Regions from separate parts of the Homo sapiens genome. Here regions 1, 2, 3, 5, 6 and 7 are each linked to region 4. The links are contacts of gene promoters, found by promoter capture Hi-C in blood cells and fetal thymus (Javierre and others, 2016). All regions are on one chromosome and are shown on one strand. The core of a region is centred on a gene start or on the middle of the fragment in contact, and the rest is flanking DNA. Distances in the headings are between cores, read along the strand shown. Region 1 overlaps ZDHHC17 (zDHHC palmitoyltransferase 17). Region 2 overlaps TMBIM4 (transmembrane BAX inhibitor motif containing 4). Region 3 overlaps HELB (DNA helicase B). Region 4 holds the start of ZFC3H1 (zinc finger C3H1-type containing). Region 5 overlaps ZDHHC17 (zDHHC palmitoyltransferase 17). Region 6 overlaps TMBIM4 (transmembrane BAX inhibitor motif containing 4). Region 7 has its middle 9.7 kb from the start of HELB.

Region 1 (3,451 bases), core at 874-3,373, 5.1 Mb after region 4:
AAATCCATCATAAAGTTAAAAATTATAAGTTGAACCATTGTGAGTCCAGATACTTTTCTACTTATGATGGTGGTTATGTCCTGATAAACCCATCGTAAACTTGAAAAAATTATTGTTCACCATCCTTAGTCATCTGTAATAATTTATTTGCATAGCATGGGCACACATAATAGGTCATTTAATTGCCTGGGACAGGGAAGGCTATGGTGACTCTTGAATTGTGAATTGAATTGTGATTTCTAAAGGTTTGCCTGAGCCTGAGATGGGATGTGTCTTCTAAGTAGAATAGCTAACATGAGCACAAAGATACTGAGGTTTTTAAAAGTACATGACTTCTTGGAATGGCTGGTGTACGTAAATGTGTAGGATGTGTAGAAGGGAATGGTGGATACTAAAGCTGGAAAAAGCAAACTGGGACCACTTCATGAAGGATTTTGTATGATTGCCGAAATGTCCTCTCTTTACCCTTATATGTATGATTTTAAGGATTTTAAGTAAGGGAGTGATAGGGACAGTAATATGGGTAGACCATTTGTGATAATATTAATACAGAGGAAGGGACGGATTTATTTTGAGAAAAGAAGCATTGCGACTTGGTGAATATTTGAAGCTGTGGGATAAAGAATCAAGGGGGAATTAGTTTTCTTTTTCTTTCTTTTCTTTCTTTCTTTTTTTTTTTTTAAAGAGATGGGATCTTGCTCTGTTGCCCAGGAGTGCAGTGGTGTGATCACAGTTTACTGTAGGCTCAAGTGATCCTCCCACCACAACCTCCTGAGTTGCTGGGATTACAGGTGTGTGCCATTAAGCCTGGCTAATTTTTTTTATTTTTATTTTTATTTATTTTTGAGACAGAGTCTTGCTCTGTCGTCCAGGCTGTAGTGCAGTGGCACGATCTGGGTTGAAGTGAATCTCCTGCCTCAGCCCCCTGAGTAGCTGGGATGGCAGGCACCTGCCACCATGCCTGGCTAATTTTTGTATTTTAGTAGAGATGGGGTTTTACCATGTTGGTCACACTGGTCTTGAACTCCTGAACTCAAGCAGTCCACCCGCCTCGGCCTCCCAAAGTGCTGGGATTACAGGCATGAGTCACTGTGCCTGGCCTTTTTAATTTTTATTTTTAGAGACAGTCTCACTATGTTCCTCAGGCTGGTCTCAAACTCCTGGCCGCATGTGGTCCTTCCCCATCAGCCTCATGAGTTGTGGGGATTATAGGTATGCACCACTGCACCCAGCTGAATTTTTCTAGCTTGGACATTTTGATAGTTAGAAATGCCTTCTAGTAAATAGCACAGGAAAGGTGGAAGTATAAATTTTGGGGATGGTGGAAAGGAAAAAAAAATCTTTAGATGATCTTCTAAAATTGCATATCTAATTCTGTTACTTCCTTCCTCAAAACTCCCTGATTGATCTCCGTTGCCTGCTGAACTAGATGCCTAAATGTCTTTACTTATTCTCAGTCGAAGATGGGGTTTTTGCACTTCTCCTAAGAGATAGTTTACAATACTTCTTAGGATTTTCAGTTACGTATCTTTGCCATTCAAATTACATTTTGGTAATTACATTTAGATAATTTACATGTGCACTTGATGCAAACATTTAAAAAACCAAAATAAAACAACTTAAAATACTTGAAGGTACTTCTTCCTTGAAATTTTCCAGAGTCGTTTTATGTCTGCCCTAGTTTTTTGGGCCCTAATGGAAATGTCACCACGACTTGAGTGTGGGCTGCTGATAAGAACAGTTGGCCTGTGGTAGAGAAGGGAGGTCAAGGGGAAGAGTGAAGGTCACTTTCATAATATTATCATCAACTAGGAGATACATAAAAATAATACTGGTCATAATCTTTACAGGATGAAATCGAGAATCTCCAATGAAATATTAAATTGGCCATATTCTATAATGTAACAGCCTGTTGGCATTTTTATGCCCAATCAAGTGGGCATTTTTATCCATATACAGTGTTATGCATTCCCTGGAATATATTTGAATAAGGATGATTGAACAGCTTTATGATGAAGAAACACTAAATACATTGACTATTAAAAAATGGAGGAAAAATAATAGGAAATAAGGAAGTATTCTCATTTTACTTTTCCAATATTGCATTTGATGTTTTTGCCAATGCCATCGGCCATAGAGTGAAAACACACACTCTGTCTCTCCCTCTCTCTCTCTCTCTCTCTCTCTGTCTCTTGTGTGTGTGTGCGCGCGCAGGAGAGTTGATGGTATTCTTACAGTATTCAAAGGTATCTAAAATCAGAGATGATATTTTAACATTGTGGCTGGATATAAGATAAATCTGTGAACATTAGTAGTAAAACCATATACTAGTTATAACCAGCTCCAAAATACAATGAAAATGATTTATATAGATCCATTTACACACTACTTACCAAACTAAACAACTCTCAGAATCATATTAGTCCGGATAAGCTATGTTTTGCTGCAGTAACAACCCTAAATTTCAGTGGCTTAGCTGAGTGTGGTTGTGTGCACCTGTACTACCAACTACTCAGGAGGCTGAGACAGGAGGATTGCTTGAGCCCAGGAGTTCCAGGCTGTAGTGGTGATGATCACGTCTGTGCATAGCCACTGTACTCTAGCCTGGGCAACATAGTGAGACCCTGTCCCTTAAAAAAATGTTAGTAGTTATGCTACACATACATTGTGGGTGGGATAGTAGGTTTTCTATCCAGTGATTATCTCTACTCTCTAGAAGATTGCCAGTCTCCTTGGCAGATGGAAAGAGAGACTGGGGAATTGCATGTTGGCTCTTAAACTTGTTCTCTGAAAGCAACAGATCCTTTTTATTCATATTCCATTGGTTAAGATCACATGGTCAATCACTTGGACACACTTATCTTTCAAAGGGCCAAGGGTGTACAGTTCAACTTTGTACCTGAGAAGAGAACTGAAAATATTTCATGAATAGCACTAATAATTGTAGCAGTATTGAAATATAAAAATGAAAACCAAAAAAGCACAAGGAAAAGATTAATACATGTGACTATAAAGGGTATAATCTCTGAATTATATTGAAAGCATAAATGAACAGTTCTAAACATGGAAGTCTTTAGATCAGTATGAAAAAGATTAATCTATATATAAAAGTGTAATACAAATATATTAAGCAGATTTCAGGAGTCAAGTACAATAAAATGACCAAAAGATATGAACAGGTAATTCCCAAAAGATGAACTAGGATAGGAAAATATATTTAAGTTGGAATCGCAATTTTTTTTTTTTTTTTTTTTTTTTTTGAGCAGAGTTTCGCTCTTGTTGTCCAGGCTGGAGTGCAGTGGCATGATCTCTGTTCACTGCAACCTCTGCCTCCCGGGTTCAAGCGATTCTCCTGCCTCAGCCTGTCGAGTGGCTGGGATTACAGACATGCACCACCACGCCCAGCTAATTTTGTATTTTTAGTAGAGACGGGGTTTTCTCCATGTTGGTC
Region 2 (3,505 bases), core at 260-2,759, 5.5 Mb before region 4:
TCCCTTTCCCCTTAATTACAGTATCTTTATTTTGTCTTATATCCTTACTCTAGATAGATTTTATCAATCATCTGATAGACCATATCACAAAGGCAAAGCCAGAAATAAAGGCAGTGGCTGTATAATCACACTCCTGGTAGAAGCATCCCTGTACTCCACCCTACCTGATATCAGGAAACCATCAGCACCAGAGCAAAAATGGTATTAGAAATTGTACATAGATGTGGAGGCAATGGAACTGCTGTCACATTTTAATGCTTTTAGTAGTGCCAGCAAAAATGGTAGCAAAAGATGATAGAAATTTTTTTCTGGGCTGGGCATGGTGGCTCAGACGTGTAATCCCAGTACTCTGGGAGGCCGAGGCAGGTGGATTGCTTGAGTCCAGGAGTTTGAGACCAGCCTGGGTGACACAGCAAAACCCCCTCTCTACGAAAAACACAAAAAAATTAGCCAAGGATGGTGACATGCGCCTGTAGTCCCAGCTACTTGGGAGGCTGGGAGGTGGGAGGATCGCTTAAGCCCAGGAGGCAGAGGTTGCAGTGAGCCAAGTTCGTGCCACTGCACTCCAGCCTGGGTGACAGAGAGAGACCCTGTCTCAAAAAAAAAAAAAAAAAAAAGAAAGAAAGAAATTTTTTTGGGGGGGGCAGGGCAACATGATTATACTATATTCTTGCTATTTATGACAAGATTTTAGGAAAGAAATCCCATACACATTCAAGTATCTAAGGAAACAGGATGGTATAAATAAGAGTTAAGATAAGACTAGGAAAACATGATAATGTCCCTTTAAAACATATACACACATGCTCCTCGAGTTACAATGGGGTTACATGCCAATACACCCCACTGTAAGTTGAAAATATCGTAAGTAAAAAATGTAGCTCAGAGTGTCTTTGGTTAAAGAATCACCAATGCTTAAAGTCTGAAATTTCGTGGTTGCATATTGCTTTGACACCATCATAAAAGTGGAAAACATTAAGGTGAATGATTCTAAGTTGAGGACTATCTATCTATCTGTCTGTCTGTCTATGTGCATGCATACACACACACACACACTCCTACTAGGGCAAGATAAGATTCACCTCCTTTCTTATCTTGGTGGATCAGGACCAAAAAACTCCTAACGTTAAAGGTCCCTGAGTAATTTAAGGAAATGTATTGTACATACTTATTTGTTAAACCATTTTTAGCTATGGGCATGATGAATAGATTTAACAATCAGTGATTATCTTGCCTATAAGCATTTGGTTGATACTTTTCTAGTGGGACCTCTCCCTGCTGGGCAAAAGTTGAACCACACCCTCTTCCCACACAGAAATCAGTCTTTCTGAGAGGAGGCTACATGTAGATGCGAAGAGGAATTCTATATGGCCGTCTTTTTTTTTATACTTCCTCTTTCCTGAGACATAGCTGACTAGGCCAGGAGTTGGCTCTTACCCAAGGCCTGGCAACCCATATATTGACTAACAGCCTACAATGTGACCTGTGCCAACAACCAAGTGTACCAATCAGATTCTTTCTCTCTCCTTTCTTCCTTCCTTCCTTCCTTTTCCTTTCTTCCTCCCTCCCACCCCCCTTTCTTTTTAAGACAGGGTCTCACTCTGTCACTGAGGCTGGAGGGCAGTGGCGCAATCTCAGCTCACTGCAACCTCCACCTCCCGGTTTAAGTGATCCTCCTGCCTCAGCCTCCCAAGTAGTGGGACTACAAGCACGTGCCATAACATCTGGCTAATTTTTGTATTTTTTGCAGAGACAAGGTCTCACTATGTTGCCCGGGCTGGTCTCGAACTCCTGAACTCAAGCAACATGCCTGCCCCGGCCTCCCAAAGTGCGGGGATCACACAGGCGTGAGCCACCACGCCTGGACCAGATTCTTTCTGACTCAGGAATCTGAACTCAGAGATTGAAGCAATGGCAGTGGGAGCTAAAGTTAAATGACTCTGGGGGCAAACAATGGGTCATATAAAAATTAAAGATAGAAAAAGGGAAAACAATGTATAAGGACAACTGAGGTAGAGAAGAGATGTAATAGAACAAGGGAGAGGGGAACACAAACATTTGTCACTGAATTTCCTATGATATCATCATTTCTGGAATCTTCCTCCAGTTCTCCAGTTCATCTTCTTGAAGAGGATTTGGGTTGGTGGGTTCTCAAGCTCTTACATCCTTAAACTCCTTGTTATTTGCAATAACTTGAGTTAGAATTGACAATCTTGCAAACAAAAGAGCTTAAGATTTAAATGAATAATCTTTCCTATTACTGAAACTTTCAAAGTCATCAGCTTTTCATTTTAACACAAACTCATTATCAGAATTCATAAACTTTTTAGTTTAAAGCATTTTAATCTAATCAATAGCTTTTCCCACTCGTATTTGACTACAAGTATTCTTTTTTTGTTTGTCTGAGATGGGGTCTCACTCTGTCACTCAGGCTGGAGTTTAGTCACGTGATCTCAGCTCACTGCAGCCTCCACCCCGCAACCCCGTTACAGTGATCCTCCCACCTCAGCCTCCCAAGTAGCTGGGACTATAGGTGCACACCACCATGCCCAGCTAATTTCTGTATTTTTTTGTAGAGGTGGGGTCTCACTATGTTGCCCAGGCTGGTCTCAGACTCTCGGACTCCAGCAATCTGCCCACGTCAGCCTTCCAGAGTGCTGGGATTACAGGCATGAGCCACTGCACCCACCCAAGTATTCTTAATATTACTTTGGAATGTTCTGAAGTAAATTTTTAGGTTAGAATCTAGTCATACTGGATGAGAAGAGGCAAAATAATTTTTTAGACAGATAACTTGAGGCTTATCCCCTTATTCTGGTCATATTCTAAACTGAATTTTCATAAGTGGTAGTTTGGGTTTTAATTTTCACAAATATCTCAACATACATGACTTAAAGTTGGGTTCTCCCAACTATAATTTTGAAAAAAGTTACTAATGCACATAATTTGAGCAAAATGGTTCTTTAAAAGATCAGAGTGATAAGATAATAACAAAGAAGAGTTAACAATAAAGAATTTGAATTTTATGAAATTAAAGCCACAACATAATTTTCTCCAAAGAAAATAATAGAATATTAGAGGTAGAAGGTATCACAAGGATTTATCTACTTTAAAATTCTCATTTTACATATGAAAAAACTTAGACACAGAAAGGATAAATGCCTTGCCAAGTGTCACATAATCAGATAGCAGCAAAGCCAGGTCATCTATTCCAATTCAGCATTTTTTCCACTACATACTAATATTTGAAACTAATAAACTGTTAAAAGTTTTAAAAGACTATAAAATTACAATTAATTTCCTAAAGTACTCTAAAAAAAACTCATTAATTTTGTTCTGCCGTTGTTATATATGTATTATATATGCATTTATTTAAAACTCAGGAATAATTGTTAAGGGAATAGAGAAAGTCAGAGTACTCACAAATCCAAAAAGTAGGTACAGGTTAAGGGGATACTTATGTCTGTTTAAAATCAACGCAAAAATCAAACCCAGAGATCCGAGG
Region 3 (3,627 bases), core at 857-3,356, 5.4 Mb before region 4:
CAGAGGTTGCAGTAACTGAGGCTGCACCACTGCGCTCCAGCCTGGGCAACAGAGCGAGACTCCATCTCAAAAAGCAAACGAACAAAAAAAATTTACCTTAAAGACAAACTTATTTCTTAAAGCAATCAGTAGGAATTTATTGAATGTTTCCTGGGTCCCTGTCTTGCAGTAACTGATCATTTAGATCAATGCTTTTCAAAGCAGCAGTCTGTAAATTGTTACCAGTTTGCATGAGAAAGGAGCTAATGGTAGAAGTAAATCAGTGCACTGCTTCCTTCTTTGAGTAAGTCTTATGGAAAAAAAAAAAAAACCTATTGGGTTCAGTGCTGTGGTTCCTGTCTGTAATCCCAGCACTTTGGGAGGCCAAGGTGGGAGGATCACTTGAGCTCAGGAGTTTGAGACTTGCCTGGGCAACATAGTGAGACCCCCATCTCTACAAACAATTAAAAAATTAGGTGGGCATGGTGGCATGCACCTGTAGTTCCAGCTACTCAGGAGGCAGAGGTGAGAGGATTGTTTGAGGCTGTGAGGTCGAAGCTGCAGTGAGCCGTGTTTAGACCACTGCACTCCAGCCTGGGTGACAAAGTAAGACCTTGTCTAAAAACAACAGCAAAAATTCAGTCCCACTAGAGTGTAGGCGTAATGATATAGTTAGTTTAGATCCTGGTACAATATCTGTTTCTCATGGGGGCTGGTTACAAACATGTCACAGTCCATAGACCACATTTTGAGTAACATTGGAAATGGAAGTAAAAGGCCTATATTTTGTAGGATGAAAGTGAGGACTTTGCTCATCTGGAATAAGTCTTTATTTCTTCCACCTAGAACAGTGCCAGACAAATAGTAGTTACATAATAAAAATTTCAAATAAATTAACATTCTTGAAAAAAATAGTATTGGCTATAATTAAGAATCATGGAGTTTAAGCTTGTAAAGAGTTGGAGAGGTTCCTCTAGCCCTAGCCCTGACCTGCCATTTTTTAGATAAAGAAACATGGTAGTTGGAAGATTTCTGAAGAAGGTAATCATTGAATTGGACTCCAAGGAACATGGAGACTCAGGTGAGGAGAAGGACATTGGACTTAGGGGAAAGGCCTTTGCAAAGGCATCGAGGAATATGATCGTAGTGTGCCTGGAGGATTTTGAGGTGACTTCATTGACTGGAATGAAGCCTGTGTCTGACAGAATAGTGGAAATTAAACTTGGGTTAGACAGTGAATTCGAGCTTTAAAGTTAGTAAAGTATTTTGACTTATCTCATTACATCCTTGATAAAGTGATGTTATCTCCACATTTACAGAAACGCCAGTTGAAGTGTGGGGATGTTAAACATTTTGCCTAAGATCTCAGTTAGGTGTAGAACTGGGACTTGAAATGGAGATTTCTGGCCTTCCAGCTTGTTGTTCTTTCCATGGTGTCATTATTTCCTCATTTATTACAGATGCTGTACACTAACAATGAAACTCGAACTTGATCTCTTAGGGAGCCATTTAGGTTCCTAAGCAAGAGAGTGAAAGAAGTTTTAAGGAAGATCATATAGAGTCATAGAGCCATGAGCCACTTATCATATCTTGCCTGTTACCTTTATTTATCACATGAATGAATGGAGACCTAGAGATGTTCAGTGTAGTTTATCAGTGGAAGAGTTTTCTGATCAGTTTATGATCTTTTTTTTGTACTATGCCTTCATGTCTGATTAATCTGAAGGATTGAATTAGAAGGGGACACCCGAAAGGGATCATTACCAAGTTTTATCTGATGTGTCAGCTCTGATTAGTTGGTAGTATCTTAATATCTGCTTGGGATGCTGAGTGAGAGAATATTTCTGAAGCTATGTTTAGGCTCAGGAGAGAGTGCAAGAGCACGGAAAGAGCACTGGAGTGCCATTTATCATCCTTGGACTAGGGTTGCCAGATTTATCAGATAAAAATATGAATAATTTTTTAGTATAAGTTTGTATCAAATAATTCATTGACTTGCTTATACTAAAGTCATTTATTGTGTATTTGAAGTTCAAATTTAACTGGATGTCCTGTATTTTATGGGGCAATCCCATCCTGGGATTGTGTGTGGGGGAACCTGGCTGCAAAGCTATTGGAGTCATCAAGTTGCTGATAGATGGAACCTGTATTGAGCTGGTAGCACTAGAAATACAGTGGAAAATGTCAGCATTTCTAAGATAATAAATTGAATATATCAAATAAGAGAAAAGAAATGGCTAATTCCGAATGTTGTGAGACATGGCTACTGTGAGCATAGGGGGTTTTGTTGAAGGGAATTGATGCATTTGGGTAGGAAATATGAAGGCTTTACTTAATAGACAGTTGAATCTAGTTTTAGTAGAAAAATTAGATGAAGATGTGATATGATACCATTTAGAAAATCTGTACATAACACAGATTGAAAATCTGAAATGCTCCAGTGAGTGTTTCCTTTGAGTGTTATGTCAGTGCTCAAAAAGTTAAGGATTTTGGATTTTGAATTTGCAGATTAGGGATACTCAACCTATAAATGTTCATACTGATGACATAGAAACATTTTTGGGATGATATACACTAAAATATTGAATGTTCTCTGGTTGTAATTTTACAACCAATTTTTTTCTCATCTATATTAAAAAATAATAAATAGTATTACATTTGTAATAAAGAATTTTGTTGTTTATTTGTTGTTGGGGGTGGTGCGGTGGTAGTTTTTAAAAAGTTTTGAGGTGAGGAAGTTTGGAGTACTTGAAAGAAAAAGTAGTATTTTCATAATTCGGTTGAGAAAGCGCTGCTTTTATTCCAGAATGGAGTACTATGGTTGGGAGAAGGGAAGAGCTTCAGTGGCATATCTCAGATGGCCACGAGAAGGTTTATTTGGGAATGGAAAAGAATAGGGAGCTTTCTGTGTTTAAGAACGATGAGGGAAGTGTTGAGATTTTGGAACAATCTGATTTTTTGTTTGTTTGTTTTTAGATTTATTTGGTCTGTCTGTTCTGCATATTCAACCCTATAACTTTTGTGTTTCTTTACTTCCCACCCACCCCTGCCAATTTACGAGTTTTGCCCCAAAATAACTTGCTATTAATTTTTGGTTTTGTAGATTTTATAACCTGACTTTAGGAATGCCATACTTTGCTTGTAGGTCAATTATAGCTTCTATTCATGGACTCAAACAATGATGACCACAAACAAACCATGGAAATTTTCTTCGGTTAGAGTTCTGGTTGTGGATGAAGGGAGTTTGGTATCTGTAGGAATCTTCAAATCGGTCTTAAATTTATTGTGTGAGCACTCCAAACTTTCTAAGCTTATTATCCTTGGTAAGTTAAAATATTGTTGGAATTCTGATGTTTATTTCAAAGTATTGTGGTTAGTTGGTTGTTTACACCATTTAGTTGGTTGTTTACACCAGAATTGATACCAAAGCTACACGAAGATACCAAAGCTACATGAAATTAAATCTGACCACTCTCCTAATCAGCTTGGGTTGTTTTGTTTTGGCCAGGATATTAGCTGGCTGGGATGTGAATGAAATAGGGTTGTTAAGGGCTACTGCTAATCACCTAAATGATGGCTATTAAAATAGTAAAAGTGCCACAGATTCAGAGTAAATCAGGATGTGAATCATTTGGAAATGATAAAAAG
Region 4 (3,341 bases), core at 783-3,282:
TCCTAACCCAACTTTTGGTTGCAGAAGTAAGGTTTTTCAGGGAACTAGCATCAGAAGCTGCTGTTTCTCACCTAAATGTACATTCCTTGCCCCTTTTACATCATGACATTTGAGAAAGACCTATTCTGGACCTAAGTGTTCTATAAAAGTAATTCTGATTGTCTTCCAAATAACTGTCATTACTTTTAAGTTTCATATATAATAACGAAATTAAAAATCATCACACTATGTGAATTACAACCAGTAATGAAAGTCTTTAAACAATTTTTGCAATGATCACAGATTAAGTCAAGATAGTGTTTTACAAACCCATTATAAAACAGGAAACCTTCGGATGATTGATTCCTCTGTATAAATGCTGAGTAAACTCAGTAATGTTTAAAACTGAGAATAAGGTTAGAAGTAGGAAAAATCTGGAATGTTACTATTTCCTTTCTCAACTTACCCGTAATCTCCACCCTCGCATACACATTCCTCCACTCTAACGTATTAAAATAAAAATGCTGATAAGTTTATCTTTCTCTCTCTGGCCCTCATTTAGTCAGCACGAAGTTACACAATGTGCAAAAGTGAACACAGATAGAAACGTAAAGGAGGTAAAGTGTTCCAAAAAGATCAAATGAATCAAAAAGCTCTGAAACAGACTTGGTAAAGACACCAGAGTTGTTTTTTTTTTACCCCTCCCCCCCCCACTTTAAAAGGCAGCAACCGGAATAAATCAAGATAAAAACAGAATCACAAAAATAGTGCAGGACTGTGCAGATTAAAACTTTACAATTTTCAACGTCAAACTGCAATATGATAAAGCAACAATATTACTTAAACTGTTTATGAATATTTTTTCTCTAACAATCCAAGTCAACTTCATATAAAACACAAAGTTTCTGTACCAGCAAAAATACAAATGCTAATGAAACTTGGGCTTCTAAGGTATTATTACAAATCAGACTTAACTGTCTTAGATTTCATAAGCTTAACCCAATCCACAGCACGTTAATATACCCAATGAAGCAGTCTTAAGAATAACGCTATAGTGTGACACATGGGGAATTACCAAAGAACAACTTAAAGTATACTGACACAGGGAGAAATAAGCGGTTCTGATGATTCAAAGTTACACTCGTCTCACAGACCTAGTAATGACGCTAAAGGGAACTTTAGTGACACACCCAGCGCCGACCGCCACGTTAAGGATACAGCTCTTCCGAGGTGGAGAGGGCTCTCGCCAGCTCTGACTGCTGCTGAACCCGGATCCTGCTCCTCCTCCCAGAGGAGGTCTGCACCCCGGCTTGCCTCCTCGCTCACCCACTCCTCGCCCCCGACTCCAGCGACTCCCACCCCGGTAAGGCCTGCCTCGAAAGCGGAAACGGTCCAAGGCGAGGTGGCTCCGCTCCCAGAAAGACGGCCGGGGACTGCTTTCGGACAGTGAGCTCGAAGGCATCCGTACAGAAGGCGGATGAGACCGGAACGGTTCTTTGGGTCGGTAGCTGCTGGGTCCCCTGAGGTGGCCCCGCTCAGACGCGTGCCGCGAGCGTGAGAAATTCCTCAGCTGCTGCTGAGAAGAGGACGATGACGAGGAAGAGCCACCGCCTCCGCCAGATCCACCGCCCCGGGCCGAGTGAGGAGGCCTTCGCCGCGGATAGGGTAACAGCCCGCCGCCGCTGCTGCTGCTGCTGCTCCGACTCCGTATCTGGCTGTTATTATCGTCGTCACTGATTTCCCCATCTTCAAGCTCCCCTTCTTCCTTCGGCGAGAGGCCACTGGAGGCCGGGGCCGGAGTATCTGCGGTCGCCATCCGGGGAGCAGCGCCTTCCACACAACCTTAGCCCTCCGTCCGGGGATCCGCCCGACAATTGCCTCGTTTCCCTTCTTTCCTAACGGACTGGGTCGGTGCGGTCTTACCCTACTCGGACACCAAGCGGCCTCTGCTCCCCAACTTCCCCGCACCCCAGCACCCCAGCTCTCTCTCGCCGGACCGTCGCAACCCAGTTCCCTTTCCTAGCGCCCCCTTGCTCCTCAGCGATCGGGGTTCTTCCGCCTCGCGAGAAAGGGACTCTGGTAGCGGCTGTACCCGAAACGTCACTTCCTGCGACACGCAGGAAACAAAGGCTCCCAGTTCACGCGATAATAAGACCAACTCGATACTCACTAGGATTTGTAGTCTTTCGTCTTTCTTCGGGTTTACTCTTCCGGTCCTAGGGTCACACCCACCGCAGGGTCTGGCTTGGTACAGTTGGGTGCATGCAGAAGTAGGTGGAGCTGCTGTTGCAGCCTTGAGAGAGTTTTATTGTAAAACTCTTGTAATTTATAGTAATCGGAGGGGAAAACACCTCTTCCTTTTAATTGCTCTGAGGACCGCTGCCAAAGAAACGCAGTAGATCCGCTCCCTCTTGGGGGCGGGGAGAAAGAACGGGTTGTGTCCGCCATGTTGGTGAAGTCAAGCGAAGGCGACTAGAGCTCCAGGAGGGCCAGTTCTGTGGGCTCTAGTCGGCCATATTAATAAAGAGAAAGGGAAGGCTGACCGTCCTTCGCCTCCGCCCCCACATACACACCCCTTCTTCCCACTCCGCTCTCACGACTAAGCTCTCACGATTAAGGCACGCCTGCCTCGATTGTCCAGCCTCTGCCAGAAGAAAGCTTAGCAGCCAGCGCCTCAGTAGAGACCTAAGGGCGCTGAATGAGTGGGAAAGGGAAATGCCGACCAATTGCGCTGCGGCGGGCTGTGCCACTACCTACAACAAGCACATTAACATCAGCTTCCACAGGTAACCTGGGCAGGGAGTGGGGGTGACGGAAACTGGAGTTCCTATTGTGGCTATCGCTTGTGTGGAAGGAACAGGAGGATTCTGCTAATTCTAATAACTTTCCCAGCTGGTAGCAGGGAAGCATCGTATGTCCTTTGTGTTTCTCAAATCTGCCCAATTGTTCTCTGCTTTCGGGGAAGCTTTACTCATTTTCTAAAAGAAATCCAAGTACTGTTTGGTCATTACCCCTTAGTAAAAAAAAGTAACAGGAGGATATCGTAATTTTCTACTGTTTTATTCCTCTGTTAGACCGGGCCTTGACATGAATGACGCCGTAAGGGAGAAAGAGATCTTCCCAATCAGCAATCACCGTAAAAGCCTGCTGTGTTCCCGTTAAAATTAGGAAATTCTCACTAGATGAATTGACATGGGAGGCATTTAGATTTCTAATAGTCACATAGTAATTCTGCGGAGGAATTGAGTCATCTTTGATAGCCATGGAATTAAGCGATGTTAATTAAAGTGCAAAAGATAACCTTTCTGTTCTTACTAGAATAGAGTAATAAAAAGAACCTAGGTTTTCTTTTGTTTGCTGGA
Region 5 (3,609 bases), core at 586-3,085, 5.1 Mb after region 4:
TTGCTCCAAGCCTCTTGGGGCCAGGTGGAAGCGCGTCTGGTTTTGATTTCTTTTTCCTTCGCCAGGGTGAATGACGGTATCTATTGCTTCCTTTTAGTCCACTGTGAGGGGACAGTTTCATGGGCATAGTGATGTCCTTCCAGGTAATGCCATGGGTAGCACCTCGGGCACCTTGTGTCGGGCGTCCTTTTTTGAGCATTTGTCCTTAAGCGATTAAGAAGAGAGGTAAAAACTTTTGGGAATAGACTTACACTCACATTAGCTTGTCAAAGTACCGTTTTTCTAGGAGCTAGGGGTGGACAGTGCAACACGTTTCCCATCACAACATGAGTGTCTTCCCATGTAAGTAAACAGTGCCCCGCTCCACAGTCAGTCAGTCTGTGCTTGTTTACCTCCGAGTTTGTAGCTGAGCTAGTGCTAGTTAAGGCTTGGAAGCAATTCTTGATGCATTCTGATTTTTAGTGATCCACAGTGATGTCTGTATGCGGCAGCGGCACAGTTTGCTGAAGAACTCGGGTAGTTTTCATGAGGTTAAAAGATGACAGTCGTGTTGTAGGATGAACAAACATGGAAGTCTCTACCTGGTTACTTTGCAATGGAGTGATTCTGTTTTTTTCTGGATTTGGGTTTGTACCATGCCACTAGTTTTTGTTAAAAAGTGAATAATGACAACCATCCTTTTATGTTGCATGTTAACACTCAACCACCCTCTCATTCGTCACTTTGGTTTATCAAAAACACATGGGACAGTTCCTTCGGAATATATACCTGTGCCAGTCTCAGTAGAAAAGGCTACTCTGGGTTTCTGATAAACAGAACTATACAGTAAGACTAAACACTTGTCTGACCAAAGTGGTAACATTTTCAGAACTGGCATTGTAGACATCTCTTTTGGTTCACTTAGGCCCTAACATACGTCAGGAAATAGACAAAGTAGTTTTCAGATGTTGCCTTGAAAATGTTGCTAAGTGATTTCTATTCATCTGTTCCTGTGAAAGTATTCGTGAAAGTATTTCAAACACTTAAGTGTTTATCCAGTTTATTTTTTTGAGACGGGGTTTCTCCCTGTCCCCCAGGCAGGAGTGCACTGACACGATGACAGCTCACTGCAGCCTCTACCTCCAGGGCTCAAGTGATCCTCTCCCCTCAGCCTCCTGAGTAGCTGTGACCACAGGCTCGCGCCACCATACCCGGCTGATTTTTTTATTATTTGTAGAAGAAGAGGTCTCCCTATGTTGTCTAGGCTGGTCTTGAACTCTTGAACTCAAGTGGTCCTCTCACCTTAGCTACTTAAAGTGCTGGGATTACAGGCATGAGCCACCATGCCAGGCCTATCTTACGTATTTTAGCATACTGTTCTTCATAAACCTTTGCTTTGTAATATAGTACTGTTGTTTGCTACTTTAAGAATAATTTTAACTGGCAACAAATCCAGATTATTTGGTGTAGTAGAATGGCCAGTATAGGCTTGAAATTTAGCTACCGATCTTCAGGTTGCCATTCGATAGATAGGATATTACTAGAAAGTCAACCTCCTCATCATTGATAGTGGGAATTGGCATACATAATATATACCGTTCCTTTTTACCCAAGAAGCACAAGGTCTGATTATTTTAATACTTTGGATGGACCTTAAGCTTGTACTACATGGCTGAGGTCTTTCTGCATTTTCTGTGGTTAGTGTGTGCAGCTGGTGCAGACCTGGGGTAGTTCTGCTGCCTCCTAGCAGTGTGTTCTTGGGCAAGCTATGAATACGTCTCTGAGTTCTAGTTTCATCATTTATAATGGATAAAAATAATAGTTAATAAGCTATAGCGAGGATTAACTGAGATAATATGTTTTTGTTGTTAAAATAAGCAGTGTTTTCAGTCTCCTTTGGGAAGAAACCCATTCTCTGTCTTGGTAAGTAATGAAATAATAGTACTTTTAACCTCTTTTTGGAGAGAACATAGACTTTGGGTCAGACAGACTTGGATTCTAATTCTGGAAATTCGGTAACTAGCTAAGTGACCTGAGACAAGTGCTTAATTTCTTTAAGCTTCAGTTGTAATCAGAAAATGGAGATCCTGGCTGGGCTCGGAGGCTCACACCTGTAGTCCCAGCACTTTGGGAAGCCGAGGTGAGAGAATCACTTGAGCCCAGGAGTTCGAGACCATCCTGGGCAACATGGCAAAACTCTGTGTCTACAGAAAATACAAAAATTAGCTGAGCATGGTGGTACACGCCTGTAGTCCCAGCTAATCGGATGCTGAGGTGGGAGGATTGCTTGAGCCTGGAAGGTTGAGGCTGCAGTGAGCCATGATCGAGCAGCTGTACTCCATCCTGGGTGACAGAGCAAGATTATGTCTCAAAAAAAAAAAAAAAAGAAAAGAAAAGAAAATGGAGATGCTGCCTAGTTTACTTGGCTGTAAGGGATTAAGTGAGGCTATATGTTGAGGGTCAAGAACTGGCACATTGTAGGTGCTCAGTTAATGTTACTTCTTTTTTCTCTACCAGAAGAAAGGGAAGTGTTACACATTTATTTTGGTTTTGGTGACTGATTTAAAACTTATGTGGGTTTTAATTTAGTGGAATAGGATCTTGCAGGAACAAATTTCATTTCACTTTTTATCTTCCAATTTAATACTCTCACACAAAAACAGTTTTTCACTTTAGTATTTGTTAAGCAGATGAATTATTTGTGGGTAAAGAAATGAGCATTGCTTAAATCTCTTATTAGTATGCAAACTGCCCACTGTTAAAACCTTTCTTAGAGGATTATACAATTAGATAAACGCCTTTTTAGAGGTATTTTAGGTAAGATAATCTTACTTTTTAATGAATTAAATCATCCACTCATTTAGTTGGTCATTTAAACATTTGTTTGTCATGTTTGGGTAAGGAATTGTGCTGGAGTCTGTGTGAGACTTCAGGATATTTTTGGTGTTCAGTGAGAGGCAGTGTAGAATACTGGTTAAGAGCCAAAGTTGGCTGGGCGTGGTGGCTCACGCCTGTAATCCCAGGGTTTAGGGAGGCCGAGGCGGGCGGATCACCTGAGGTTCGGAGTTCAAGACCAACCTGACCAACATGGAGAAACCTTGTCTCTATTAAAAATACAAAATTAGCCATGCGTGGTGGCACATGCCTATAATCCCAGCTCCTCAGGAGGCTGAGGCAGGAGAATTGCTTGAACCCGGGAGGTGGAGGTTGCAGTGAGCCGAGATTGCACTCCAGCCTGGGCAACAAGAGCAAAACTCTCTTAAAAAAAAAAAAAATCCAAAGCTGTGGTGACAAACTGAAAATGTAGCTTCTGCAGCTTACTGTTATCATGGTCAAAGTACATTTTTCTCATTTGTAAAGTTGGGTTAATAGTGACACCTTTTACAGTTATTGTGAATATTAACTAGGCTAATGTTTATAAAGCAGTTTTCATAGACCTAGGCACATAGGCTGCCAAGCAAATTGTACCTTCTGAAGGCCCTGGCATATAGTGAATACTGAAAGGGAAGCTGCTGTTACTTTGTTTTCTTTTGAAATAGGTGATTATTTGTTTTATTGAAATGAAAGAAATTAAAGGCTCTTTGGATAAAGAAGAACTGATGATCAAGGGATTAGGGTACTAGTTCTAGC
Region 6 (3,564 bases), core at 414-2,913, 5.5 Mb before region 4:
AAACTACAAAACACTGATGAAAGAAATTAAAGACAAAAATAAATGGAAACACATCCATCATTATACATTGGAAAACCGATGTTCATACTACCCAAAGTAACCTACTTTGGGTAGATTTAATGCAATCCCTATCAAAATCCCAATGGCATCTTTCACAGAAATAGAAAATCCATTCTAAAATGTATATGGAATGTCAGGGGACCCCAAATTGCCAAAACAATATCTAAAAAAAACAACAAAGTTGGAGATCTCACATTCCTGATTTCAAAACTTATTACAAAGCCACAGTAATCAAAACAGTGTGGTACTAACATAAAGACAGAGACATACAGACCAATGGAATACAACAGAGCTCCAATAATAAATCCTGGTATATATGATCCTTTTTTTTTTTTTTTTCAGACACGGTCTCCCTCTGTTGCCTAGGCTGGAGTGCAGTGGCACAATCACAGCTTGCTGCAGCCTCGACCTCCCAGGCTCAAGTGATTCTCCCACCTTGGCCTCCAAAAGTGTTAGGATTACAGGCGTGAACCACTGCACCCAACCTTGTGAATCTTCTTTAGTGGGGTATGTGTTCAAGTCTTTTGCTGTATTTTATTCAGGCTATTTGTCTTCTTATCGTTTAGAGTTCTTTTGTATATTTTGGATAACAGTCCTTTATTAGATATATCTTTTGCAAATATTTTCTCCCAGTATGTAGTCTATCTTATTTTCTTGACTTCTTCACTTTAAAATCAGGTTGTTTTTTGTTATTGAATGGTAGGATTTCCTTATGTATTCTGGATATTAGCCTCTTACAGGATATATCATTTGCAAATATTTTCACCCATTTTATGGGCCTTTTCACTCTGTTGAATGTGTTCTTTGATACACAGAAGTTTTAAATTTTGATGTCATCCATCTATTTTTACTTCTGTTGCCTGTTTTTGGTGTCACGCCCAAGAAATCCATTGCCAAATCCAATGTCCTCCTATGTTTTTATCTAAGAGTTTTATAGTTTTAGGTCTTACATTTAGGACTTCGATCTTTTTTGAGGTAATTTTTGTATACAGTTTAAGGTAAGCATCTAATTTCATTCTTTTGAATGTGGATATTCAATTTTCCCAACACCATTTGTTGAAGAGACTGCCCTTTTCTCATTTGATTGGCTGGGCACAGTGGCTTATGCCTGTAATCCCGGCACTTTCGGAGGCCAAGGTGGGTGGATCACTTGAGCCCACGAGTTTGAGACCAGCCTGACTAACATGACGAAACCTGTCTCTTCTAAAAATATAAAAAATTAGCTAGGCATGGTGGCATGTGCCTGTAGTTCCAGCTACTCAGGAGGCCGAGATGGGAGGATCACTTGAGCCTGGGACATTGAGGCTGCAGTGAGTTGTGACTGTACCACTGCACTCCAGTCTGAGAGACAGAGTGATACTTTGTCTCAAAAAAAAAAAAAAAAAAAAGAAAAAGAAAAAGAAAAAGGAAGAAGAAACACAAATGGCAAATAAGTATATGAAAAGATGCTCAACATTATAAGTCATTAGAGAATTACAAGTTAAAGCAACAAGGAGATGCCACTACACACCTATTAAATGGTCAAAATCTAAAACACTGATATCATCAAATGCTGACGAGTATGTGGAACCAACAAGAACTCTCATTCATTGCTGGTGGAAGTGCAAAATAGTACAGCCACTTTGTAAGACAGCTTGGTGATGTCTTATGAAACTAAACATTCTCTTACTATACAACACGGCAATTGTGCTGCTTGGTATTTACCCAAATGAGTTGAAAACTTATGTCCACACAAAAACCTGCACATGGATGTTTACAAAGCAGCTTTATTGACAAAACTTGGAAGCAGGCAAGATTTCCTTCAGTAGGTGAATGAATAAACTGTAATGCATCCAAACAATGGAATAGTATTCAGCACTAAAGAAAAATGAGCTATCAAGCCATGCAAAGACATGTAGAAAACCTTAAACGCATATTATAAGTGAAAAAGGCCAATTTGAAAGGTTACATGATAATTCCAACTATACAGCATTTGGGAAAAGACAAAACTATGGAGACAATAGAAGATCAGCAGGAAGGGAGGGATGAACAGGCAGAGCACAGAGGAAGGCAGTGAAACTATTCTGTATGATACTATCATGGTGGATACATGTCATTAAACATTTGTCAAACTCATAGAATATACAACACTAAGAGCGAACCTTAACGTAAACCTTGGTCTTGGGTGATAATGAGGTGTCCAGTCTAGGTTCACTGATTGTAACAAACATACCACTCTGGTACAGAACGTTATTAGTGCAAGAGGCTTGGGGAAAAGCAGAAAGGGTATATAAGAACTCTGTTCTTTCTGCTAAATTTTGCTATGAACCTAAAATTGCTTTTAAAAAATTAATTGGGCAAAGGACTTGAATAACATTTCTCCAAGGAAAATGTATAAATGCCCCACACGCATACTTTTAAAATGTGCAACATCATTAAATCATTAGAGAAATGCAAATCAAAACCAAAAGGACATACCACCTCACACTCATTTGATGGCTATTTTCATTTTAAAAAGAAAGAAAAGAACGGAATGTGTTGGCAAGGATGTAGAAAAAGGTGAACCCTTGTGCACTGTTGCTGAGAATGTAAAATGATGTAGCCCCTATCAAAAACAGTATGGCCGTTCCTTAAATAATTAAAAATAGAACTACCACACAATCCAGCAATTCCACTTCTGGGTATATATTCAAAAGAATTAAAGCACGGTCTTGAAGAGGTATGTGCACACCTATATTCATGACAGCACTATTCAAAGTAGTCAAGAGGTAGAAGCAACACAAATGTCCATCAATGGATGAATAAACAAAATTTGGTATATACATACAAAGTACTACTACTGTCTTAAAAAGGAAATTCTGCAGCCAGGTGCAGTGGCTCATGCCTGTAATCCCAGGACTTTGGGAGGCTGAGGTGGGAGGATCGCTTGAGTCCAGGAGTTCAAGATCGGATGGGGCAACATGGAGAAACCCGTCTCTACCAAAAGTACAAAAAAATTAGCCAGGCCTGGTGACCTGCATTTGTAATCCCAACTACTCGAGAGGCTGAGGCGGGAGGATCACCTGAGCCCAGAAGGTAGAGGCTGCAGTGAGCAGTGATCTCACCACTGCACTCCAGCCTCGGTGGCAAAGCGAGACCCTGTCTCAAAAAAAAAAAAAAAGGAAATTCTGACATATGCCACAACATGGATGTATTTGAAGACATTATGCTAATTGAAAAAAGCCAACCACAAAAAAACAAATACTGATTGTATCTAGAGTAGCCAAATTCACAGAGAGAGAAAGTGAAATGGTGGTTCCAGGGACTGGGGGAAGGAAGGAATGGGGAGTTAATAGGTATAGAGTTTCAGTTTTGCAAGATTAAAAAGTTCTGGATATTGGATGGTATATAAGTTTAGTCTAAAGCTATGCCTTTAGATATTTTAAGTTCAGCCTAGGGGTTCTCGGTATATAGTGAACTATAACCTAGTAAACAGGCTGTAACCTACGCTTGAACCAATCACTGAGTTTCAGCCAAAGATGGCCA
Region 7 (3,693 bases), core at 512-3,011, 5.4 Mb before region 4:
GTCACTTAGAGATGACAAGAGGTTGTGGTAACTTTGCAACTGTTGTGGTTTTACCCTAAGGTCCCAGAGAAGTGTGTATCTGTTTTACAAATCTCAAACAAAAGAGAGGCAACAAATCAAGGAGATTGATACTATGCTGCAGTGTATGCCTCCTCACAGCCCCAGGTTGGTTCCTGGGTGCATGCAGAGATATTTAGAACACAGAGCTGTGCCTGAACATGTAGCAGCAAAGAGCACGGTCACTGGAGCCTGACTTCTTAGGTTCAAGTCATGGTTCAGCCACTCCCAACTTTAAGCAAGTTATCTAACCTCTCAGCAGAAGTTTCCTCATAAGTAAGATAGATGCTTTAATGTTAACTATTTCATGAGGCTTTTGTGAAGAGTAAATGAGTTAATTGAAGGAGAGGACTTTGTGATGTGTGGAAAGCACAATGTAAACACTCAGTATTAGCCATTATAATTGTTGTTGTTTATAATTAAGGGAGGAAGTTAAATATATAAAATTGTTCTGTTTTCTGAGTGTGAAAGCATTGTCTTTGTACTCTCCAAATTCTGGGGTTTTTTTGTTTGTTTGTTTTCAGAAAAAAAACAAAAACAAAAACAGAGTCTTGCTCTGTCACGTAGGCTGGAGTGCAGTGGCACCATCTCCGCTAACTGCAACGTCAGCCTCCCAGATTCAAACAATTCTCCTGCCTCAGCCTCCCGAGCAGCTGGGATTATAGGTGCCTGCCACCACGCCCGGCTAATTTTTTGTATTTTTAGTAGAGAATGGGTTTCACCATGTTGGCCAGGCTGGTCTCAGACTCCTAACCTCAGGTGATCCACCCGCCTTGGCCTCCCAAAGTGCTGGGATTACAGCATGAGCCACCACTCACAGCCTATGTTTTCTTACATCAAAAATAAAATCTCAGAGATTTTGCATTCTTTAATGAATTCTGCATTGTGTAACACGAGTTATTACTGCATTATGGCTTTGTTTTTTAAAGGAGAATTTTCCAACTCTTTTGAAACTCCCCTGCATCTGCTGTCCATATCTTCATCACATTATCTTTCCACATTCTCCTTCCTGTCTCCCTTTCAGTCATTCTTTCCCTTTTTGCTCATCATTATTCCAACCTAGTTCTTCATATCTCACTTTTCTCCAATGCAGGATGATTTTCTCCCTTCTTGGCCAGAAGTGGATGTTGTATATGAAATCTTGTCACAAATGGAGGAAATTTCCAGCCATTTAAAATAAATCAGGAAAACAGACCTGCTGATCTGAATGTAGTTTATCTTTTGCAACAAGAGTGACTCTGTGGAATGCTCAAATATATTTCTATTCCAGAAAGTCAGTCTTCATCTATTGATGATTATAGATTGCATAAGCATAGCACTTTTCACATGTTCCCTGATTTGCATTCCTTCTATTCAATAATTCATTCCATAGCCCATACAACACAATATCTCATTGTCAATTTTTAATATCTCTACCTTGGTTTCAATCCATCATTCTATCTGAAATAGCAAAACCTCACTACAGTCATGCTCTGTGTTAGTTCATTTTTTGCTGCTTGTAACAGAATACTTAAAACTGGATAATTTATAAAGAAAAGGAATTTGTTTATAACTTAGAGTTATGGAGGCTGGAAAGTCTGAGGTAGAGAGAACATATCTGGTGAAAGCCTTCTTGCTGGTGGAGCAACAGGCGGCATCACATGGTGAGGGGACTGAACATGTTAGTTCAGGTCTCTCTTCTTCTCATAAAGCTACCAGTCCTGGATGTGAGGGTGATCTGTCTGTGACATCTGCCACCCCATTGATAGCCCGAGTTGACTTGGCTGATCTGGCCAGCTAGGCGGTTGTCCCCTTCCTCCCTCACCACTCCATGTGTGTCCCTCCCAAAGCTGTGCTCGGTGAAAGAGGATTACCATCCCTGATAGAAGAGGACTGGTCTTCGGTCAAGGGTATACGGGCAACTGCGCTCCCCTGCTAGAACCTCCAAACAAGCTCTCAAGGTCCACCAGTCCCACTCCCATGATAACCCATTAATCCATTGACCCATTAATCCATGAGTGGATTAATCTATTCACGAGGGAAGATACCTCATGACCCAATCACCTCTTAAATGATATGAAATGAATATACCTCATGACCCTCCTCACCTCTCAGTGCTGCCACATTGGGGATTAAGTTTCAACATGAATTTTTTTTTTCTTGAGATAGAGTGTTGTTCTGTCACCCACGCTAGAGTGCAGTGGCGCTATCTTGCCTCACTGCAACTTCCGCCTCCTGGGTTCAAGCAATTCTCGAGCTTCAGCCTCTCCATAGCTGGGATTATAGGTGTGTGCCACCACGCCTGGCTAACTTTTTGTATTTTTAGTAGAGATGGGGTTTCACCATGTTGGCCAGGCTGATCTGGAACTCCTGATCTCAAGTGATCTGCCCATCTCAGCCTCTCAAAGTGCTGGGATTACAAGCGTGAGCCATGCCGCCTGGCCCTCAACATGAATTTTGCAAGAGACAAATATTCAAACCATAGCACTCTCTATCCCCTTTCTCTCTTTTATCTTTGCTTCTGGTTCTCATCATCATTTGATATTACTTTTACTTGCTCCCTGGCTCCTTCTTAGGATGGATCCTTGCTCCTTCTTAGGATGGATCCTTGCTCCTTCTTAGGATGTACAAGGACTTGGTCTGTTTTGTTTACTGTTATTCTCCAGTACCCAGAACAGTAACTATCCTAAAATATGTATTGACTGAATAAATGAATTGTAGTCATCTACTTCTTAGTAATACTTTGCAAATGTTTGCTTTTTAAAAAGTTATACTTATCATATAGGATGAGATAAATAGTTTTCATAAAATGCCTAACAAAGACCAACATGATCAGCTAGAAACTGATCCCCAGCTCCATCTCTCTGTGGTAGCAGAGTTGATGCATTTTTGTTTTAGTGCTCACCTCAACCATGGCATGTTTGTTAGGAAAGGAGCTTCCAGAAAATGTATTTAGGAAAGCAATTCTTTTTCTTTTTCTTTTTCCTTTTTCTTTTCTTTTCTTTTCTTTTCTTTCATTTATTTTTTGGGTTAGGGTCTCACTATGTCACCCGGGCTGGAGTGCAATGGCACAATCGTAGCTCACTGAAGCCTTGAACTTCTGTCCCCAAACGATCCTGTTGCCTCAGCCTCCAAAGTAGCTGGGACTATAGGTTTGCACCGCCATGCCCAGCTTATTATTGTGTGTGTGTGTGTGTGTGTGTGTGTGTGTGTGTGTGTGGTGATGGGGTCTCTCTTTGTTGCTTAGGCTGGTCTCAAACTGCTGGCCTCAAGCAATCCTCCCACCTCGGCCTCCCACAACTCTGGAATTACTAGTGTGAGCCACCGTGCTCATTGGGAGGCAGTTCTTTTGTTTTTATTTTTATTTTTTGAGATGGAGTGTCACTCTGTCACCCAGATAGGAGTGCAGTGGCACGATCTCAGCTCACTGCAACCTCCACCTCCAAGTGATTCTCCTGCCACAGCCTCCTTAGTAGCTGGGATTACAGGCATGAACCACTGCACCTGGCCAAGGTAGTACTTTTTAACGAACATACTCTCCTACAACTTACAAACTCATATGCTGAAACAGAAATATAAAGGCATGAATTTAGCCCTACAAATGTTTTAGCATGGGTAAAAACATACATAATAATGTAAAGTAAATTGAATTGTAAT

Evidence for each region. Contacts are between HindIII fragments. The CHiCAGO score rates a contact against its expected background, and 5 or more counts as called.
Region 1: a fragment that was not itself captured here is called in contact with the fragment with the promoter of ZFC3H1 in region 4 in 2 of 17 cell types (neutrophils and total CD4 T cells); the score reaches 5.5 in neutrophils.
Region 2: a fragment that was not itself captured here is called in contact with the fragment with the promoter of ZFC3H1 in region 4 in 2 of 17 cell types (total CD4 T cells and activated CD4 T cells); the score reaches 7.7 in total CD4 T cells.
Region 3: a fragment that was not itself captured here is called in contact with the fragment with the promoter of ZFC3H1 in region 4 in 4 of 17 cell types (activated CD4 T cells, non-activated CD4 T cells, total CD8 T cells and 1 more); the score reaches 11.7 in activated CD4 T cells.
Region 5: a contact is called between a fragment that was not itself captured here and the fragment with the promoter of ZFC3H1 in region 4, in 5 of 17 cell types (naive CD8 T cells, non-activated CD4 T cells, total CD8 T cells and 2 more). The highest score is 8.4, in naive CD8 T cells.
Region 6: a contact is called between a fragment that was not itself captured here and the fragment with the promoter of ZFC3H1 in region 4, in 9 of 17 cell types (naive CD8 T cells, total CD8 T cells, total CD4 T cells and 6 more). The highest score is 28.2, in naive CD8 T cells.
Region 7: a contact is called between a fragment that was not itself captured here and the fragment with the promoter of ZFC3H1 in region 4, in 6 of 17 cell types (total CD4 T cells, naive CD8 T cells, activated CD4 T cells and 3 more). The highest score is 18.0, in total CD4 T cells.

What each region holds. Positions count from the first base shown.
Region 1 is chr12:76,785,455-76,788,905 of GRCh38, forward strand. The region is part of intron 1 of ZDHHC17 (zDHHC palmitoyltransferase 17); the gene reads left to right. Among named protein-coding and RNA genes, the nearest start is that of ZDHHC17, 23 kb to the left of the region's middle. The HindIII fragment of the contact is 5,143 bases long and covers 1-3,451 here.
Region 2 is chr12:66,148,848-66,152,352 of GRCh38, forward strand. TMBIM4 (transmembrane BAX inhibitor motif containing 4) reads right to left here. Exons shown (of 7, transcript NM_016056.4): 3 at 3,424-3,505. Among named protein-coding and RNA genes, the nearest start is that of TMBIM4, 19 kb to the right of the region's middle. The HindIII fragment of the contact is 6,497 bases long and covers 1-3,505 here.
Region 3 is chr12:66,310,862-66,314,488 of GRCh38, forward strand. HELB (DNA helicase B) reads left to right here. Exons shown (of 13, transcript NM_001370285.1): 5 at 3,125-3,302. Among named protein-coding and RNA genes, the nearest start is that of HELB, 10 kb to the left of the region's middle. The HindIII fragment of the contact is 2,362 bases long and covers 926-3,287 here.
Region 4 is chr12:71,661,816-71,665,156 of GRCh38, forward strand. It overlaps ZFC3H1 (zinc finger C3H1-type containing), which reads right to left and starts at 2,033. Exons shown (of 35, transcript NM_144982.5): 1 at 1,198-2,033. The coding sequence starts at 1,795. It overlaps THAP2 (THAP domain containing 2), which reads left to right and starts at 2,486. Exons shown (of 3, transcript NM_031435.4): 1 at 2,486-2,765. The coding sequence starts at 2,695. RefSeq lists enhancers at 1,656-1,775, 2,128-2,686, 2,136-2,495. The HindIII fragment of the contact is 1,665 bases long and covers 971-2,635 here.
Region 5 is chr12:76,764,670-76,768,278 of GRCh38, forward strand. The region is part of intron 1 of ZDHHC17 (zDHHC palmitoyltransferase 17); the gene reads left to right. Among named protein-coding and RNA genes, the nearest start is that of ZDHHC17, 2.4 kb to the left of the region's middle. RefSeq lists an enhancer at 1-452. The HindIII fragment of the contact is 401 bases long and covers 1,636-2,036 here.
Region 6 is chr12:66,165,037-66,168,600 of GRCh38, forward strand. The region is part of intron 1 of TMBIM4 (transmembrane BAX inhibitor motif containing 4); the gene reads right to left. Among named protein-coding and RNA genes, the nearest start is that of TMBIM4, 3.2 kb to the right of the region's middle. The HindIII fragment of the contact is 5,192 bases long and covers 1-3,564 here.
Region 7 is chr12:66,290,924-66,294,616 of GRCh38, forward strand. It overlaps the pseudogene RN7SKP166. Among named protein-coding and RNA genes, the nearest start is that of HELB, 9.7 kb to the right of the region's middle. The HindIII fragment of the contact is 9,012 bases long and covers 1-3,693 here.